Linked DNA regions of Homo sapiens: regions 2, 3, 4, 5, 6 and 7 are each linked to region 1. Evidence: promoter capture Hi-C in 16 types of primary human blood cells and fetal thymus (Javierre and others, 2016). All regions are on one chromosome and are shown on one strand. The core of a region is centred on a gene start or on the middle of the fragment in contact, and the rest is flanking DNA. Distances in the headings are between cores, read along the strand shown.

Region 1 (2,653 bases), core at 40-2,539:
CTATGAAGTAGAGGAGAATCGATGAGAGTTGGCCCAGGAGATCTGGCAACAGAGCCTGGTCAAGCTTCCACAGACCTCTGGGATGCACCCACTGAGTGATGCCGGCCTCTGCAGCAACCCTGCCCAATCCCATCACTGCAGCAGTCTTCCAAGCTACTTCCATTCATCCATCCATCCATCCATCCATCCATCCATCCATCCATCCATCTGCCCTTCCCAGCTCCCAGTGTCCCTCTCACACAGCTGGATCTTCAGGCTCTCCTCATCTAAAGACAGCTGTCCTCAGCATGGCTAAGGATCAGGAATAAAGCTAAGTATTAATACGCCCTGGGGTGATGCCCTCATCAGCAACACCAGGATGTGTTCGTTCTCTCTCTTTCTTGGCACAGATTTTTGTTTGTTTGTTTTTGTCTTTTTTTTTTTTGAGACAGAGTCTCGCTCTGTCGCCCAGGCTGGAGTACAGTGGCATGATCTCGGCTCACTGCAACCTCTGCCTCCCTGGTTCAAGCGATTCTCCTGCCTCAGCCTCCTGAGTAGCTAGGATTACAGGCGCACACCACCATGCCCAGCTAATTTTTGTATTTTTAGTAGAGATGGGGTTTCGCCATGTTGGCCAGGCTGGTCTTGAACTCCTGACCTCATGATCCACCCGCCTTAGCCTCCCAAAGTGCTGGGATTACAGGCATGAGCCACCGCGCCTGGCCAGACTTTTTTTTTTTTTTTAAATAGGGTCTTGCTCTGTTGCCCAGGCTGGAGTGTAGTGGCTCCATCATGGCTCACTGCAGCCTCCACCTCCCAGGCTCAAGTGATTCTCCTGCCTCAGCCTCCCGAGGAGCTAGGACTATAGCATGTACCACCATACCAGGAAAAGTTTTGTGTATTTTTTTTGTAGAGACAGGGTCTCACCACATTGCCTGGGCTGGTCTTGAATTCCTGGGCTTAAGCAATCCACATGCCTTGGCCTCCCAAACTGCTGGGATTATAGGCATGAGCCACTGAGACTGGCCCTTGGCACAGACTTTTCAAAGTGGGAATTTTTTATTTCCTTTCCCCCTTCCCTCCTACAAATTAACTTAAGACCTAAATCAAGGTCTAACTTTTGCTTGTCCAAGTGCCAGCCGGAAGAACAGCTCCGTGAAGCCAGCTAACCAACCAACCAAAACCCTGCTGCTGCCCCAGGGCCAGAGAAGCCATACCTTTGATGCTGTCATAGATGATATTCTTGCAGAGCAGGTCATTGTGACAAAACACCACAGGGGACTCCAGCTGGGACAGATGCTCCTTCAGCCAGGCCAGCTCCCGTTCCAACACCTCTACCTTAGGGACATCTGCAGAAAGGCTGGGCAGTGGCAAAAAAGGTAGCCAGTGAAAGGAGGGCTGATAGACAGGTGCTTGGCCTCAAGAGCCCTGAATCTGAGCCTCATCACTCCCTCTGTCTTACTGCAGGGGGCCTTGGAAAAATGGCCAATCTCTTAGACCCTCACTTTTATCATCTGTAAAATGGCACTGAGGCGTCCTGTCCTTCTGACTCCTCTGGTTATGCTAGGAAGCTGATAAAGACATGGGCGTCAAAGCATGAGGCAGAGCATAAAAGTCACTGACTGAGGGCATCCCTGCTACTTTGTGAAAGGAACAGGAGGGTAAGGAAGGAGACACAGGGAAAGGACAAGGCAGGTGAGAACGAGTGTCCAGACCTGGGGATTCCAGACTAAGAACAAGGGCAACAGGAGCAGTGGGGAGAGATGCAAAACAGACCTGATCTTAGGATGCTGGGAAAACTCCCCAGGAGGCGGTGCAGCTCCCTAAGTCGAGCTGACTCCCACAAAGATCCTCCCCAGGAGGAAGAGTAGTGCCCTGGCAGGGAGCTGGAGCAATGGAGCTCTCTTGAGGAGGCAGAGGTATGTCCTGGTATGCACCCCCCTCTCACCCCAGCAGCTGACCATGTCACAGGTAGAAGGGATCAGAGAGACGGTCTGGTCTAACCTCTCATCTCACAAACAGACCATCGGCTCACATGAGAAAGCAAACTAAGAGCTTCTTTAGCTCACTCCTACACTGTCAAAGGAACATTAAAGCCTTCAATGAAGAGCATGCTTGCTTTGTGGCTCCCCATTGACTCATCCCTTCTACCTTGAGTTATGAGTAAGTGTTCCCTTGTCCCAGACCCCTGCCATATCATGCAAGTGCAACCTGGGGGCATGAACAAAGATGCATGGGTCAACCTCTCCTGCTGCCCCACCCCCATCCCAAGCACTCAGCAGCCATTTCTGCTGAAAGAAACACATGTTGAGGAATGAAGAAATCAGCCAATCAATCAAGTTATCAGAGGCCATGTGGAAGTCTGATGAGGGTCCACTGTGCTTGTGTGCTCTGAACTTTGGTCCCCAGGAGGCACACAGGTCTGTGTACACTGAAAAGGCCAAACACTTATCACAGTCCTTAAAAAACCTAGAACCACCAATGGGCAGAGGGGAGGAGGCTGGGCTTTTATCTCCATTCCTGTGTCACCTGTTTGTGTTTCTCTGTCCAGGGTAGCAAGAGCACATAGAGAAGGATGAGGATGAGACCGGCCCTCTCTCACCTTCCCACAGGACAGACCGATCACTCCCTCACCCAGCCCAGGGGCCAGAACACGAGAAAGAGTATTCAGTGA
Region 2 (2,653 bases), core at 105-2,604, 370 kb after region 1:
TTTTAATGTTTCCTAATATAGAAGAGCTTTCAACAAACCTCTCAGGCAGGCTGTCTTCAAATGACATTACTTCCCCCAAATACCTAATTTCATTTATTTCAGAACAACTCTAAATGTTAGAGGATTTTCTGAGCTTAAAAATACTGCCTTGTAATTTCTATTGGTTTTAGTTCTGCACTTTGGAGAAGAGAATAAGGCTCCGTTATTTCCAATATTATACTATTCAGTTATTTGAAGACAGCTTCCAATTTCTATGCTCAACCCTTTCCCTCTTTTTTTTTTTTTTTTTTTTTGAGATGCAGTTTCGCTCTTGTCGCCCAGGCTGGAGTGCAATGGCGCTATCTCGGCTCACTGCAACCTCCGCCACCCGGGTTCAAACGATTCTCCTGCCTCGGCCTCCTAAGTAGCTGGGATTACAGGTGACCGCCACCATGCCCCGCTAATTTTTTGTATTTTTAGTAGAAACGGGGGTTTCGCCATGTTGGGCAGGATGGTCTCGAACTGCTGACCTCAGGTGATCCGCCCGCCTCGGCCTCCCAAAGTGCGCTGGGATTACAGGGGAGAGCCACTGCGCCCGGCCTCCCTCGTTTATATGCAGGTTAAAAACTCCCTTGAGCCTTCAACTATTTCTTTTTCTTTTTTTTTTTTTTTTTTGAGGAGTTTCGCTCTTGTTGCCCAGGCTGGAATGGCGCTATCTCGGCTCACTGCAACCTCCGCCTCCCAAGTTCAAACGATTCTCCTGAGTAGCTGGGATTACAGGCATGCGCCACCACACCCGACTAATTTTGTATTTTTAGTAGAAACAGGGTTTCACCATATTGGTCAGACTGGTCTCGAACTCCTGACCTCAGGTGATCCGCCTGCCTTAGGCCTCCCAAAGTGCTGGGATTACAGGCGTGAGCCACAGCGGCTGGTGCTTTCAACTATTTATTTGACATGGCTTCAAGCTTCCTTGCCACCCTAGTGCCGCCATCGCTCCGTTTCCCTTCCCTACCACCCTTGGGGAGTAAGGGTGAGGACTGGGGAATGGCAGAGGAAGCGTAGTTTTTCCGAAGAGCTGAAGGCAGCCTGTGATTATGACCTTAGCTCTTCCTCTTCTCTGTTTTCTGATCTCCTAATACACGTCTGTAAATATCACAAGACCCTGCAAGTCCCTCACTTATTATCTCTTCAAATCTGACGACTTTCAACCGTTCGGGCCCCACGACTCTCTCCCCGGACTAGGATCTACTCTATGGTAGTGAGCTCAGCCTTTCTAGCTCTCTAGTCCTCCCATTGCTCCATCTATGGTTTCCGGAGGCCTCACCGGAAGCCCTCGTGTGAGGCCGTGTGGGAGGCCGGAAGTTGCGGCTTCATTACTCGCCATTTCAAAATGCTGCCGAGGCCCTAGGATCTGTGACTGCCACCCCTCCCCCCACCCGGGCTCGGCGGGGGAGCGACTCATGGAGCTGCCGTAAGGTGTGGCTCTTGGCCTTCGTCGGCGGGGTGCCGGGAGCGGGAGCTGGAGAGTGAGGAGCAGGCGGCCGTACCGCCAGTTGTGCGGGTAGCGGGCGGGAGGAGCTTGAGAGGTGGGTCGGGCGGCGTGGGGAAGGCCGCGCCAGGCGGAAGAAGGGCTCGGGGGGAGGGGAAGAGTTGTGGGATGAGGGCTCGCGGAAGATAAAAGTGGAGGTGGGGTGACGTGAAGTAACTTTGGCCAACAGGTGACAAACCTAAAGTCGACGTAGTTGGATTGAGTTTAACTGGACACAACATTTGAGGACTGTTGAGGCAATTTGGAGAAAGGAGGTGGGAGAGAGGGAACCGGGTAGAATGACATTGACGTGTCTTAAGTTTTTAAGTTAGTTTTTAGGTCTGCGGACAGTCTACCTTAGAGGCACTTGAGTGCTTGTTTGAAAATGCTTGTTTTGGCTTGGCGCGGTGGCTCACGCCTGTAATCCCAGCACTTCAGGAGGCCGAGGTGGGTGGATCTACCTGAGGACAGGAGTTCGAGACCAACCTGGCCAACCTGGTGAAACCCCGTCTCTAGTAAAAATACAAAAATATTAGATGTGTGTGGTGGCGCATGCCTGTAATCCTAGCTACTCGGGAGGCTGAGGCAGGAGAATCACTTGAATCCGTGGGCGGGGGTTGCAGTGAGTCGAGATCGCGCCACTGCACTCCAGCTTGGGCTACAGAGGGAGATTCCGTCTCAAAAAAAAAAAAAGAAAAAATGTTCGTTTTGGGGCCACACTGAAACCTACAGACAGTATCGAGATGGGGCTCAGAGAAATATATTTTAATGAGCACACCTCCCAGTGATTTTTGTATACCTTAAAGCTTGAAAACCACAGGTTTTTTTGGTTGTGTTTTTGTTTTGTTTTTGTTTTTTTTGAGTGGAGTTTCGCTCTTTTTGCCCAGGCTGGCGTGCAGTGGCGCGATCTTGGCTCACTGCAACTTCTGCCTCACGGGTTCAAGTGATTCTTCTGCCTCAGCCTCCCGGGTCGCTGGGATTACAGGTGTGCGCCACCACGCCTGGCTAATTTTGTGTTTTATTAGAGATGAGGTTTCACCAGGTTGGCCAGGCTGTTCTCGAACTCCAGACCTCAGGTGATCCGCCCACCTCGGCCTCCGAAAGTGTTGGGATTACAGGCGTGAGCCACCGTGCCCGGCCGAA
Region 3 (2,653 bases), core at 77-2,576, 350 kb before region 1:
GAGGAGGCTCAGGACCCCTCTGCTCTGATAAATTCCTAGTCTTGGGCTGCCTGGGACTCGCACATCACCAACCCGGCAGCTGGAAGAACAAGCACACGAGGAAATAAAAGGTGCCTGAAGTCCCATCTGCTTTATCATCAAGTGTTTCCTTTCTTAGTAGCACAACTATATCCTTTACCCAAGTTAGGTAAAATGTTGCCACCTAATTAGAGTTCTGCTGAGCCACTACCCCAGGGGGACCTTGGGCTCCTATTATATGTGTAATATATTTAAGTATATTTTCAGTGTAAAAGCCAGAAAGGATATATGGTAAGTTAATGAGAGCTATTTCTCAAGAATGAGATTAATAGAGATTTTAACTTTCTACTCTCTATATTTCTGTATTGTTTCTAAAAAAACTTACGTGTATTAAGTTTTTTACTTTTTTTTTTTTTTTTTTTTTTTGAGATGGAGTCTTACTCTGTCGCCAGGTTGGAGTGCAGTGGTGCGATGTCAGCTCAATGCAACCTCTGCCTCCCAGATTCAAGCGATTCTCCTGCCTCAGCCTCTCGAGTAGTTGGGACTACAGGCGCGTGCCACCACGCCTAGCTAATTTTTGTATTTTTGGTAAAGATGAGGTTTCACCATGTTGACCAGGATGGTCTCGATCTCTTGACCTTGTGATCCGCCTGCCGAGGCCTCCCAAAGTGCTGGAATTACAGTCGTGAGCCACCGCACCGGCCACGTGTATTACTTTTATAACCGGGGGAAAAAGTAAAAACATTCAAAAGGGAAAATAAGGGACAATGTTAATAATGAAGCAGGGATGAGACTGCTGATTGCGACCTCCAACTAACTCTCCTGAATTTTGTCACGAGCATGAATTACTTTTCCAATACACAAATTTGCTTTAAGAAATCAAAGAAACACCCCCCCAAAGCCCAATCTCACTTCTTCAAGTAAAAAATAAACTAACAAATCATTCTACATTGCATGCTTAGGAAAAGTACAGTTTATTTCTAAATTAAATGTATACATGGTTTGGGAGATTTACTCATTAAGCAAACACTTTGGTAAGAATAAATTGAGCGCTTACTGAATGGCAGTCTCAGTTCCTGCGGCCCTCCCGCTTATTACCTCATTTGATTTAAAAACAAAAACAAAACGTTATGAAAGCCGGCTTCGAGGCATTCCTCTGAAGGGAAGGGACTCCCCGACCCAGCGCCTCCCCCGTCACGTGACCCTGTGACCCGGAGCAGCCATCTTAGGCATCGCCTCATAGAGGAACTACATCTTCCAGAATCCTCGCGCCCTGCGTCGTGCTGGCACTTTTACCGGCCGGGCCTTAGAGCGGAGCCTGTAGCCAGGCGCCATCTTTGACGCTGGCAGTCTTGGTTTTCTGCTAGTGCTGCTGCTGCTGGGAGGACGACGGACGGCAGCGGCCAAGCAAGAAGAAAGACGTGGCAGCAAGCGGGAGTCGGGGATAGTGTCATCGGTTCGGTAAAGTTTCTGTTCTCTGGTAACTAGACCCGTTTTTTTGATTCCCGGGTGGCTTGGGGCCGGGGAGGTGGGGGAGAGGGCGAGGGGAGTGGCAGCGGCCTCCCCTCGCCCCTGGGTCGCGGCCTATCCCGGGAAGTCAGAGCGGATCCTTCAGCTTCGCCGTAACGACCCCTCCCCCCCACCTCCCGGTCGCGGCCCTCGCCGGGGCTGGCTGGGAGCCCCAGGCTCCCGCTCACTTTTCCCATCCTCCCCACCCCCACCCCGTTCACCCCACCCCCACGGCGCCTGCTCCTTTCCCAGCCAACCTTCCTCCCCTCCCCCACATCCGGTGTTCGCTAATCTCGAGGAGCCCGGAGCAGCCCCGAAAACCGACTGTTCCCCCGAATCCCGAAGAGAGAACTGACACTAGATTGCTTTCTTCGGGGCAACAGTTTCTCTAGTTGAGCGGACCCTCACTGCCTAAATCAATCAGACTGAGTGCCGGGCGCTGAATTTACCTACTCTCATTCCTCTCCAGGGTCCCGGTACTTTGGAGCTTGTCTCAAACTCCACATACAGAAAGCCACCGACCTTATTCCGGTATCCTACACCCATTCCCCACTCTCATTACACTCCCACCCCTGGCCCTCAGCGTCGGAGTCAAGAGCAACAGGGACACTTCCGTTCTCCTTGTAGGACTGGTGAAACCGTAATGAAGAACACCCCTAAACTCCCATAATCGGTGCGGATTCCTATGGGGAAGGCCTATATTGTTGACATCTTCCAGGCCTTGGTTCTGGACCTTGAGAAAGAGGCTGTGGAACTAGAGATAGCGATGCTTTTTAGGGTAAATGTATGTAGGTATTGGGGGAAGGGGAGGGATCAATCGAAAAATGGAAGTGGTTTAAAGTTCATATTTCACTTTTTGCTATCTCTATAGCGTACAACTTGTGAGTTACTTACAGGCTGTAAAAGCTTCTCAAGTCTAAAAATATCTGAAAACTAAACTTGAATTAACTCTTAATACAAACAGTACTTTGAAAATGCAGCATTTAACCTTGTTTTAAAATTTTTTTCTCAAAGCATTTTTTTCCAGCCACTCACATTTTAAAAGGTTGTATTACTTTTAGTTAGAACTGAAAGGGCTCAACTAGCATTTGCTGTGACCAGTATGCGGAGTCTGTGTTGGCTTTCC
Region 4 (2,653 bases), core at 83-2,582, 330 kb before region 1:
TGAACTCCAATTTAATGTTTTTTTGTTTTTTGTTTTTTGTTTTTTTTTGGATGGAGTTTTGCTCTTGTTGCCTAGGCTGGAGTGCAGTGGTGTGATCTCAGCTCACTGCAACCTCCGCCTCCCAGGTTCAAGCAATTCTCTTGCCTCAGCCTCCTCAGTAGCTGGGATCACAGGCATTCACCACCATGCCTGGCTAAATTTTAATGGTTTTTATTGAAAACCAATTTATTGGTTTTCTTTTGTATTTAAGTTGTTATCCATGTTATTTTTTGTGAAAAGTATAAAGTCTGTGTCTAAAATTATTTTTTTATATGTGGATATCCATTTGTTCCAGTAACATATGTTGAAAAGACTATCCTTTTCCCCTTTGTCAAAGGTCATTTGACTATGCTTGTTATCTGTATTAGTTCCTAGGACTTCCATAACAAAGTATCACAAACTGGGTAGCTACAGAAGTTTGTTGTCTCACAATTCTGAAGGTGAGATGTCTAAAATGTTTTCAGCAGGGCCATTCTCCCTCTGAAGCCTGTAGAGGAATGATCCTTACCCATTCTGGCTTCTGGTGTTTGTTGGCAATCCTTGGCATTCCTTGGTTTGTAGATGCATCACTCCAGCCACATGGTCATCTTCTCCTTGTGTGTCTTCTCATCACATTCCCTCTGTACATGTCTGTCTCTTTCATTTTAAGCTGGCAACATTTTTTGCTAAGATGGTTGCCTGAATCTAGTCACACACCTAATCTCCAACAAACTGTTGCCCACCCATACCCTTTTCTCTACAGAGCATACATTCTTGTTTTTTTTTTTTGCAATATGGATAGAGTGAGAATTTTCTAAATTTTCAAGTTCAGATTCTTTATTCCTTTTTGCTTCATAGTTCTTGCCTCAATATGTCTCTCTCCTTGCATTTCACTGTAAGCAGCAGGAAAAGCCCAGGCTGTTCCTTCCACACTTTGCTTAGAAATCTCCTCAGCTAAAACCCAAGTTCATTGCTTCCAGGTTCTGCCTTCTGCCCAACACAACCCAATTCTAAGTTCTCTGCCACTTTTTAACAGGAATAACCTTTCCGGCCAGGCGCTGGCTCACACCTGTAATCCCAGCACTTTGGGAGGCTGAGGTGGGAGGATCATCTGAGGTCAGAAGTTCAAGACCAGCCTGGCCAACATGGCGAAACCCTGTCTCTACTAAAAATACAAAAATTAGCCATATGTGGTGGTGCAAGCCTGTAATTCCAGCTACTTGGGAGACTGAGGCGGGAGAATTGCTTGAACCTGGGAGGCAGAGGTTGCAGTGAGCCAAGATGGCACCATTGCATTCCAGCCTGGGTGACAGAGCAAGACTCCATCTCAAAGAAAAAAAAAAGAATAACCTTTCCTCCAGTTTCCAATAACACGATCCTAATTTCTGACTGAAACCTCACCATAAGTACCTTAAGTACCTTTAACGTTCATATGCTTTAGCAGCAGTTTCTTCTAGGCCTTTTCTATCAAGTACCTCAAAAGTCTTCCAGCCTCCACCTATGACCCAATAACAAAGCTGCTTACATATTTTTAGATTTTTTTGTTTTTGGTTTTTTACAGCAGCATTCACTTTCTGGTATGAAACTCTAATGGCTGTATATTGTCACATTACATGAATATACCGTAATTTTTTTAAATCATTTGTTTATTTTTGAGATAGAGTCTCACTCTGTTGTCCAGGATGGAGTGCAGTGCATGATCTCGGCTCACTGCAACCTCCACCTCCCGGGTTCAAGAAGTTTCCCTACCTTAGGCTCCTGAGTAGCTGGGACTACAGGTGTGTGCCACCACACCTGGGTAATTTTTGTATTTTTAGTAGAGATGGGGTTTCGCCATGTTGTCCAGGCTGTTCTCAAACTCCTGACCTCAAGTGATCCACCAGCTTCCACCTCCCAAAGTGCTGGGATTACAGGCATGAGCCACCGTGCCTGGCCATATATCATAATTTTTAAAAATAGTCTCCAGTTTTTGAACAGTTAGGTTTCTAGATGTTATTTCATTATTTTCTTCCTTTTCTTTTCTTTTTTTTTTTTTTTTGAGACAGTGTCTCGCTCTGTTGCCCAAGCTGGAGTGCAGTGGCGCAATGTCAGCTCACTGCAACCTCTGCCTCCTGGGTTCAAGTGATTCTTGTGCCTCAGCTCCCCCGTGTAGCTGGGATCACAGGAGTGTGCCACCACACCCAGCTTTTTTTTTTTTTTTTTTTTTAAGAGATGGGGTTTTGCCATGTTGTCCAGGCTGGTCTCGAACTCCTGGACTCAAGCGATCTGCCCACCTTGGCCTCCCAGAGTGCTGGGATTATAGGTATGAGCCACTGCACCCGGCCTATTTCATTATTAAAACAAGATTGTGATAACATTTATTGTGCATTGTTACCTTTAATACTTTTACATATTATAATACATTCTAGAAATGGAATTGTCGAAGGGTATGTAAACTTTAAACATTTGGGTACATGTTTAGTACCCATGTTCAGTGTCAGACTCTTAATCCAGGTTGTTAACATCAAGGTGACTTTTCATCATGGCATACCATTCTTGCATTAGGAATTATTAGTGGGAGATATGACTGAATTTGATTTAATTGATTTCAAGTTGTAGATCACTATTTCTGAAACCTGATCTTCTGGTATGTACG
Region 5 (2,653 bases), core at 55-2,554, 300 kb before region 1:
AGCTGGAAGTACAGGAATGCACTATTGCGCCCCTCAGGGAATTAGAATTCTTTATAGTTGAAGGAGAGCAAAAAGCCAAGGTTAGATTTATGTTTTTTCTGCTTGTATGACTTGCAGTGAAACACTGGCGTTAAATTATTAAAGAATAGGTGTTTTTTTCCTTCTCATTGTGTTTGGTTTTAACTTTCTTTGAAATAAGAAACTTCTTTTAATTTTTCCCCTTGCCCAAGGGACTTTGATGAGTAGACGTTCCTGTTTGGAGGTTTTCTTGCATTCTCAGAGCAAGCAAAAGTTACTTTCTTTGCCACATTGTTTTCCTCCTTGTGTATTGACCATGTTGAAGATTTTCATAACTAAGGAGCATATTTTAAATTTACTTGGAGGAAAAATTATTTCAATGACAGTAAGGTTTTAGAAGGCTCTACAATAACAAAATTATTTCCTTTAATTCAGTAGTTTTTGCTTTTCAGATATAAAGTACGTTTTTCTTTGTTTCTTTTGGTATTTTTGTTTTTTGAGACAGAGTCTCACTCTGTCACCCAGACTGGAGTGCAGTAGCGCTATCTCAGCTCACCCCAACCTCCACCTCCCGGGTTCAAACGATTCTCCTGTCTCAGCCTCCAGAGTATCTGAGATTACAGGCATGTGCCACCACACCCGGCTAATTTTTGTGTTTTTAGTAGAGATGGGGTTTCACCATGTTGGCCAGGCTGGTCTTGAACTCCTGACCTCAAGTGATCCACCCACCTCAGCCTCCCAAAGTGCTGGGATTACAAGCGTGAGCCACTGCGCCCAGCTAATTTTTGCAATTTTAGTAGAGATGGGGTTTCACCATGTTGGCCAGGCTGGCCTTGAAGTCCTGACCTCAAGTGATCAGCCTGCCTTGGCCTCCCAAAGTTCTGGGATTACAGGTGTATGCCACCATGCCCAGCAAACCTGTATTTAAGCTGTAAAAAGTTTCTGTTCAACTTTTGATTTTTGAAAATCTTTCTTTTCACAGCTCAAGTTTCCAAGTCTCTTAAGGAGCGATTAGGCATGTCAGCTGATCCAGATAATGAGGATGCAACAGGTAAGTAAATCCTAAGACCAGATTCTGATTATTTTTTTCTTTGCTGTAAGAGCCTTTGCTTTTTCTCAGATTTACCTGTTGCTTGCTAGGGCTTTTGATTTTTGTTCTTTTGTAGTTCTGTTTGTTTTTTAAGTAATTGATCAAGTCAGCTCAGACTCAACTGGGATCAATTCCTTTTTTGTGCTTAGAGATGGTAAAATGATTGTTCATCATAGCATTAATAGTAGGAAATTATTTATTTATTTATTTATTTATTTATTTATTTTATTTATTTTTGAGACAGAGTTTTGCTCTTGTTGCCCAGGCTGGAGTTAAATGGCAAGGTCTCAGCTCACTGCAACCTCCACCTCCTGGGTTCAAGCAATTCCCCTGCCTCAGCCTACCGAGTAGCTAGAATTACAGGCGTACGCCACCATGCCTTGCTAATATTTGTATTTTTAGTAGAGACGGGGTTTCACCATGTTGGTCAGGCTGGTCTCAAACTCCTGACCTTAGGTGATCCACCTGCCTCAGCCTCCCAAAATCCTGGGATTACAGGCACGAGCCACCGCACCCGGCTAAATAGTAGGAAATTAGAAACAACTTAAATATACAATAAAAAGGGTTTAGATAAAATTATGATAGTTATGTGCTAAAATAATTGCTGTCATGAAAAGTCAAATGCTGAACAACGATATGGAAAAATCAACTTGCATTGTATCAAGTGAAGAAAGATAACAGAGAGCACATACCACTTTTGACCTCCTGATTTAGGGCAACATAAGAATCTTTTTTTTTTTTTTATTTTTTTTTTTAGTATTTATTGATCATTCTTGGGTGTTTCTCGGAGAGGGGGATTGGCAGGGTCATAGGACAACAGTGGAGGGAAGGTCAGCAGATAAACATGTGAACAAGGGTCTGTGGTTTTCCTAGACAGAGGACCCTGCGGCCTTCTGCAGTGTTTGTGTCCCTGGGTACTTGAGATTAGGGAGTGGTGATGACTCTTAACGAGCATGCTGCCTTCAAGCATCTGTTTAACAAAGCACATCTTGCACCGCCCTTAATCAATTTAACCCTGTGTGGACACAGCACATGTTTCAGAGAGCACGGGGTTGGGAGTAAAGTTATAGATTAACAGCATCCCAAGGCAGAAGAATTTTTCTTAGTACAGAACAAAATGGAGTCTCCCATGTCTACTTCTTTCTACACAGACACAGTAACAATCTGATCTCTCTTTCTTTTCCCCACATTTCCCCGTTTTCTATTCGACAAAACCGCCTTTGTCATCATGGCCCGTTCTCAATGAGCTGTTGGGTACACCTCCCAGACGGGGTGGTGGCTGGGCAGAGGGGCTCCTCACTTCCCAGATAGGGCGGCCGGGCAGAGGCGCCCCCCACCTCCCAGACGGGGCAGTGGCCGGGTGGAGGCGCCCCCCACCTCCCTCCCGGACGGGGCGGCTGCCGGGCGGAGGGGCTCCTCACTTCGCAGACGGGGCGGCTGCCGGGCGGAGGGGCTCCTCACTTCTCAGACGGGGCGGCCGGGCAGAGACGCTCCTCACCTCCCAGATGGGGTGGCGGTCGGGCAGAGACACTCCTCAGTTCCCAG
Region 6 (2,653 bases), core at 66-2,565, 260 kb before region 1:
AGTTGCTCTGTATCCTCACCAACACTTGGTATTGTCAGATTTATTTTTTGTTTTTGTTTTTTTCTCCATGCTAATAGATGAATAGCAGTATCTCATTGTTTTAATTGTCATTTTCCTGTGACAAATGATTTTGTGTGTCTTTTCATGTGCTTATTTGATATCACATATTTCTTTGGTGAAGTATCTCTTAAGACTTTTTGCTGATTTTTAAAAATTGGGTTGTTTGATTTCCTTTTTTATGTGTGTGTTGGGAGGGTTCTTCTGGATGAAAAGTTCCTTATCAAGTGTTTTGCAAATATTTTCTGCTGGTCTGTGGCTTGTCTTCATTTCTCTATAATATCTTTAAAGAACACAAGTTTTAGCCTGGACAACATGGTGAAACCCCATCTCTACAAAATTTAGCTGGCTGGGCATGGTGGTGCACACCTGTAGTCCCAGCTACCTGGGGGACTGAAGTCTGGGGGGCTGAGGTGGGAGATCATTTGAACCTGGAAAGTCGAGGCTACAGTGAGCTGAGATCATGCCACTGCACTCCAGCCTTAGAAACAGAGTGAGAACCTGTCTCAAAAAAAAAAGAACACAAGTTTTATGTTTGTATTTATTTATTTATTTATTTATTTATTTATTTATTTATTTTTGGAGACAGAGTCTTGGTCTGTCGCCCAGGCTGGAGTGCAGTGGCACAATTTCAGCTCACTGCAACTTCCACCTCCCTGGTTCAAGCAATTCTCCTGCCTCAGCCTCCCGAGTAGCTGGGACTACAGGTACACGCTGCCACACCTGGCTAACTTTTTATATTTTAGTAGAGACGGAGTTTTACCATGTTGCCCAGGCTACTCTCAAACTCCTAAGCTCAGGCAATCCGCCCGCATTGGCCTCCCAAAATGCTAAGATTACAGGCGTGAGCCACCACACCTGGCCTCTTTTAAAATTCTTATATTTTTACATTTATGATATATTTTGGGTTAATTTTTAAAATAATGGTGTGAGTTATGGATTATGGTTCATTTTTTTTCATATGGATGATCAGTTATTCAAGAACCATTTGTTTAAGGCTATTGGTTTTCAATGAATTGCCTTAGTACCTTTTTTCAAAACCAATTGACCATATATGTGGGTATTTTTCTGAATTCTCTTATTGTTTCGTTGACCTATAGGTCTGTTGTTTTAATGATACCACATTGTCTTGATTACTTTAGCTTTGTAGTAAACTTTGGCCTCGGGTAATTTGAATCCTCCAATTGTGTTCTTCCTTTTCAAAGTATTTTGGCTATTCTAGGGTCTTTACCTTTCCATTTAGATTTTAGAATCAGTTTATTGATTTCTTTAAAAAAAACAACAACCTGGGATTTTGGTTGAGATTGATTAACTCTATTAAGCATTTTGGGGTAAATTGTCATCCTAACAATATTGTTGGCTGGGTGCAGTGGCTCATGCCTGTAATCCCAGCACTTTGGGAGGCCGAGGCGGGTGGATCACCTGAGGTCAGGAGTTCAAGACCAGCCTGGCCAACATGGTGAAACCCCATCTCTACTAAAAATACAAAAAAATTAGTCAGGCGTGGTGGTGGTGGTGTGTGCCTGTAATCCCAGCTACTCGGGAGGCTGAGACAGGAGAATTGCTTGAACCTGGGAAGTGGAGGTTGCAGTGAGCCGAAATCGAGCTACTGCACTCCAGCCTGGGCAACAAGAGCGAAAATCTGTCTCAAAGCAAACAAATGAAAAACAATATTGTCTTCCAGTGGTGAATATGGTATATCTCCCCATTTATTTGGATTTTTCTTCTGTTTCTCTCATCAGTATTTTGTAGTTTTCAGCTTTACCACATTTTGTTAGGTTTATCCCTTCACGAGTATTTCTCTTTTTTTCTTTTTTTGAGACAGTGTCACTCTTGTTGACCAGGCTGGAGTGCAGAGGTGGGGTCATGGCGCACTGCAGCCTTGACTTCTCAGGCTCAGGTGATTCTCCCACCTCAGCCTCCCAAGTAGCTGGGACTACAGCTGCATGCCACCATGCCCAGCTAATTTTTTGTATTTTTAGTAGAGGAAGGATTTCACCATGTTGCCCAGGCTGGTCTCAAACTTCTGGGCTCAAGTGATTGCCCTGCCTTGGCCTCCCAAACTGTTGGGATTGCAGGCATGAGCCACTGTACCTGGCTGTTTTATATTTTTGATGCCACTGTAAATGGTACTGTTTTTATAATTTTGACTTCCAATTGTTTTTATTGACCTTGTATCCTATGACCTTACTAAACTCAGTTCTTTGTTGTAGTAGGTGTTTTTTTGTAGATTGCTTGGGATTTTCTTTTTTAAGTTGTCTATAAGGTATACAACACTGAAATAATTACTACAGTCAGGCAAATTAACCTGTCACCTTCCATAGTTACCTGTTTTTTTGTCTGGTAAGAGCACTTAAAATCTACGGTCTTAGCAAATTTTTCATATGTAATACAGTATTATTAACCGTTTTCCTCATGCTGCCCATTAGGTCTCTAGGCCTGCTCATCGTACACAACTGCCAGTTTTTGCCCTTTAATCTACCATTCCCCATTTCTCCCCTTCCCTGCCCCTGGTAACTGCTGTTCTCCTCTGTTTCTATGTACAGATGATCTCTAACTTACAATTTTTCAACTTTCGGATGGTGAGAAAATAATA
Region 7 (2,653 bases), core at 68-2,567, 260 kb after region 1:
CAGCACAGATGAATCTCAAAAGCATTACAGTAAAGAAGCCCACCACAGAAGGGTCCATGCTGTACATCCGATACCATTTTTCTGAAATTCTAGAAGAGCTAAAAGTGTTGAAAGCAGATCAAAGGCCAGACGTGGTGGCTCACACCTGCAATCCCAGCATGTTGGGAGGCCAAAACAGGCAGATCTCTTGAGCCCAGAAGTTCAAGACTAGCCTGGGCAACATGCCAAAACCTTATCTCTACTAAAAATACAAAAAAAAAAAAAAAAGCAAAAACAAAAACAAAAAAAAAAAAACAAAAAACCAGCTGGGTGTGGTCGCACACAGCTGTAGTCCCAGCTACTCAGGAGGCTGAGGTGGGAGGATCACCTGAACCCAGGGAGATAAGGCTGCAGTGAGCCGTGATCACACCACTACACTCCAGCCTGGGTGACAGTAAGACCCTGTCTGTCAAAAAAAAAAAAAAAGACAAAGAAAAGAAAAGCAATGGCTGCCAAAAGCTGGAGGTTGGGAAGGGGACCGAATACAAAAGAACATAAGGGAACTTTCTGGGTGATGGAAATGATCCATATTTTGATAGTGGTGGTGTTTATATGACTACACGTGTTTATCAAAACTCATTGAATTCATACTTAAAATGAGTGAAACTTATTGTAAATTATACTTTAATAAGTTAATAAAAAACAAGAAGTGGGTTGGGGAGACGTTGCTCAAAGGATACAAACTTTCAGTGAGGAGGAATAAGTTCAAGAGATCTACTGTACGACATGGTGACCATAGTCAATAACAATGTATTATATTCTTGCAAATTGGCCAGGTGAGGTGGCTCACACCTGTAATCTCAACACTTTGGGAGGCAGGAGGAACACTTAAGCCTAGGACTTCAAGACCAGCCTGGGCAATATAGGGAGATCTCGCCCCTACAGATAACTTAAAAATTAGCCTGTTGTGGTGGTGTGAGCCTGTGGTCCCAGCTACTCGGGAAACTGAGGCAAGAGGATTGCCTGAGCCCAGGAGGTTGAGGCTGAAGAAAGCCATGATCATGCCACTGCACTCCAGCTTGGCAACAGAGCAAGGTTCTGTCTCAAAATAAATAAATACATAAATAAATAATAAAATAAAATAAAATAAATAAATAAAAAGCCCAGGCGTGATGGCTCACGCCTGTAATCCCAGCACTTTGGAAGGCCAAGGCAGGCAGATCACCTGAGCTCAGGAGTACGAGACCACCCTGGGCAACATGGGGTGAAACCTGTCTCTACTAAAATACAAAAAATTAGCCGGGTGTGGTGGCACGCGCCTGTAGTCCCAGCTACTTGGGAGGCTGAGACATGAGAATTGCTTGAGCCCAGGACGCGGAGGTTACAGTGAGGCGAAATTGCACCACTGCACTCCAGCTTGTCTCAAATAAATAAATAAATAGAAAAAGGAAATTGCTAAGAGTAGATTTTAAGGGTTCTTACCACAAAAAAAATGCTAAGTATGTGAGGTAATACATGTTAATTAGCTTGACTTACCATTCCACAATGTACACATATTTCAAAACATCATGTTGTAGACAGTAAACATATACAATTTTTGTCAATTTAAAAAACAGAAAAGTTTAAAAAACAATGTCCTCAACCATCTTAGAAAACTGGATATGAATGGTATCCTGCATAATGAAGTGCCTTTCATAACGATGACAATGTTTCAGCGAACCTTAGGCTACCACTGGAAAGAGTAGTCATGACGACCTTACATCAACTGATTTAAAACTTTGGGTTTCAGGTCATCACTAATAATGCTAGCTTTTCAAAAAAAAAAAAATCAAATACTACAAATACAAAATAATGTAAACATTGAAGATAGACCTTTTCACATACAAAATTGCTTCTTTGAAATGAATTCATAAATTACTTGTTATGTCGGGAGGGAGCCTGTGTGTTGGAAAAAAGAGGCTATGGAAATTACCACTTGAGTTAAAGAAAAGTGTATCATGTGTCTAAAATACTCTGGTCACTGCGCAGACCCTTCCACCACAGAGGAAGAAAGGAAAGAGCAAATCACAATTAAAATTCAATGTGACTTGAACAGTGATAAAAAAGTATACAAGGGCCAAGTGAGGTGGCTCATGCCTGTAATCGCGACACTTTGGGAGCCCCAGGCAGTAGGATCTCTTGAAGCCAGGAGTTTGAGACCAGCCTAGGCAATATAATTAGACCCCATCTCTACACACAAAAATAATAAAATTAGCCAGGCAATGTGGTGCATGCCTGTGGTCCTAGCTACTTGGGAGGCTGAGGTGGGAGGATTGTTTAAGCCCAAAAGTTGGAGGCTGCAGTGAGCTATGACCGTGCCACTGTACTCCAGCCTAGGCCTGGGCGACAGCAAGACTCAAAAAAAAAATCAGTTCCTTTGTTTGTGTTCAAATACAAATCTTGGTTCTCCTATAAGAAAGAGCCCCTACTTCTGGGTAATTACCACAAAAAGGTGGAGTCACACTGGGCCAGGCAGGCCTGGAATGGGCAGGGCAGGGCAGTTTTCCAGCTTGTTTACACATTGAGGGACCCACCTCCAGGGGAGCAATAGCAACCAGATCTGTAATAACAGGTGTCCATCAGGCACTCCCAGATGGAAGATAACGCCATCTGGTGGAGACAACAGAGCATCACT

What was found. Contacts are between HindIII fragments. The CHiCAGO score rates a contact against its expected background, and 5 or more counts as called.
Region 2: a contact is called between the fragment with the promoter of MDM4 here and the fragment with the promoter of ERLNC1 in region 1, in 1 of 17 cell types (M2 macrophages). The highest score is 6.1, in M2 macrophages.
Region 3: the fragment with the promoter of ZBED6 here is called in contact with the fragment with the promoter of ERLNC1 in region 1 in 6 of 17 cell types (M0 macrophages, M2 macrophages, fetal thymus and 3 more); the score reaches 8.1 in M0 macrophages.
Region 4: a contact is called between a fragment that was not itself captured here and the fragment with the promoter of ERLNC1 in region 1, in 1 of 17 cell types (M2 macrophages). The highest score is 5.7, in M2 macrophages.
Region 5: a fragment that was not itself captured here is called in contact with the fragment with the promoter of ERLNC1 in region 1 in 2 of 17 cell types (M2 macrophages and neutrophils); the score reaches 9.0 in M2 macrophages.
Region 6: a contact is called between a fragment that was not itself captured here and the fragment with the promoter of ERLNC1 in region 1, in 5 of 17 cell types (M2 macrophages, endothelial precursors, M1 macrophages and 2 more). The highest score is 7.1, in M2 macrophages.
Region 7: a fragment that was not itself captured here is called in contact with the fragment with the promoter of ERLNC1 in region 1 in 1 of 17 cell types (M2 macrophages); the score reaches 5.6 in M2 macrophages.

Annotation. Positions count from the first base shown.
Region 1 is chr1:204,140,119-204,142,771 of GRCh38, forward strand. It overlaps ERLNC1 (estrogen receptor responsive lncRNA 1), which reads left to right and starts at 1,290. Exons shown (of 3, transcript NR_123739.1): 1 at 1,290-1,358; 2 at 1,447-2,142; 3 at 2,531-2,653. It overlaps ETNK2 (ethanolamine kinase 2), which reads right to left. Exons shown (of 8, transcript NM_018208.4): 4 at 1,197-1,339. The HindIII fragment of the contact is 8,592 bases long and covers 63-2,653 here.
Region 2 is chr1:204,515,052-204,517,704 of GRCh38, forward strand. It overlaps MDM4 (MDM4 regulator of p53), which reads left to right and starts at 1,355. Exons shown (of 11, transcript NM_002393.5): 1 at 1,355-1,458. RefSeq lists enhancers at 1-748, 609-1,808, 749-1,659, 1,098-1,227, 1,238-1,317 and 1 more. The HindIII fragment of the contact is 1,369 bases long and covers 946-2,314 here.
Region 3 is chr1:203,794,297-203,796,949 of GRCh38, forward strand. It overlaps ZBED6 (zinc finger BED-type containing 6), which reads left to right and starts at 1,327. Exons shown (of 17, transcript NM_001395895.1): 1 at 1,327-2,653. It overlaps ZC3H11A (zinc finger CCCH-type containing 11A), which reads left to right and starts at 1,327. Exons shown (of 18, transcript NM_001376342.1): 1 at 1,327-1,498. RefSeq lists an enhancer at 1,028-1,447. The HindIII fragment of the contact is 5,182 bases long and covers 1-2,431 here.
Region 4 is chr1:203,813,177-203,815,829 of GRCh38, forward strand. All of the region lies in intron 1 of ZBED6 (zinc finger BED-type containing 6), which reads left to right. All of the region lies in intron 2 of ZC3H11A (zinc finger CCCH-type containing 11A), which reads left to right. Among named protein-coding and RNA genes, the nearest start is that of ZC3H11A, 19 kb to the left of the region's middle. The HindIII fragment of the contact is 2,754 bases long and covers 1-2,653 here.
Region 5 is chr1:203,839,306-203,841,958 of GRCh38, forward strand. It overlaps ZBED6 (zinc finger BED-type containing 6), which reads left to right. Exons shown (of 17, transcript NM_001395895.1): 11 at 1,001-1,069. It overlaps ZC3H11A (zinc finger CCCH-type containing 11A), which reads left to right. Exons shown (of 18, transcript NM_001376342.1): 12 at 1,001-1,069. Among named protein-coding and RNA genes, the nearest start is that of SNRPE, 21 kb to the right of the region's middle. RefSeq lists a silencer at 2,022-2,222 and an enhancer at 2,237-2,653. The HindIII fragment of the contact is 8,507 bases long and covers 1-2,653 here.
Region 6 is chr1:203,882,935-203,885,587 of GRCh38, forward strand. No RefSeq gene overlaps it. Among named protein-coding and RNA genes, the nearest start is that of SNRPE, 23 kb to the left of the region's middle. The HindIII fragment of the contact is 5,731 bases long and covers 1-2,653 here.
Region 7 is chr1:204,396,103-204,398,755 of GRCh38, forward strand. It overlaps a transcript of PPP1R15B not described here. Among named protein-coding and RNA genes, the nearest start is that of PPP1R15B, 14 kb to the right of the region's middle. The HindIII fragment of the contact is 3,146 bases long and covers 1-2,653 here.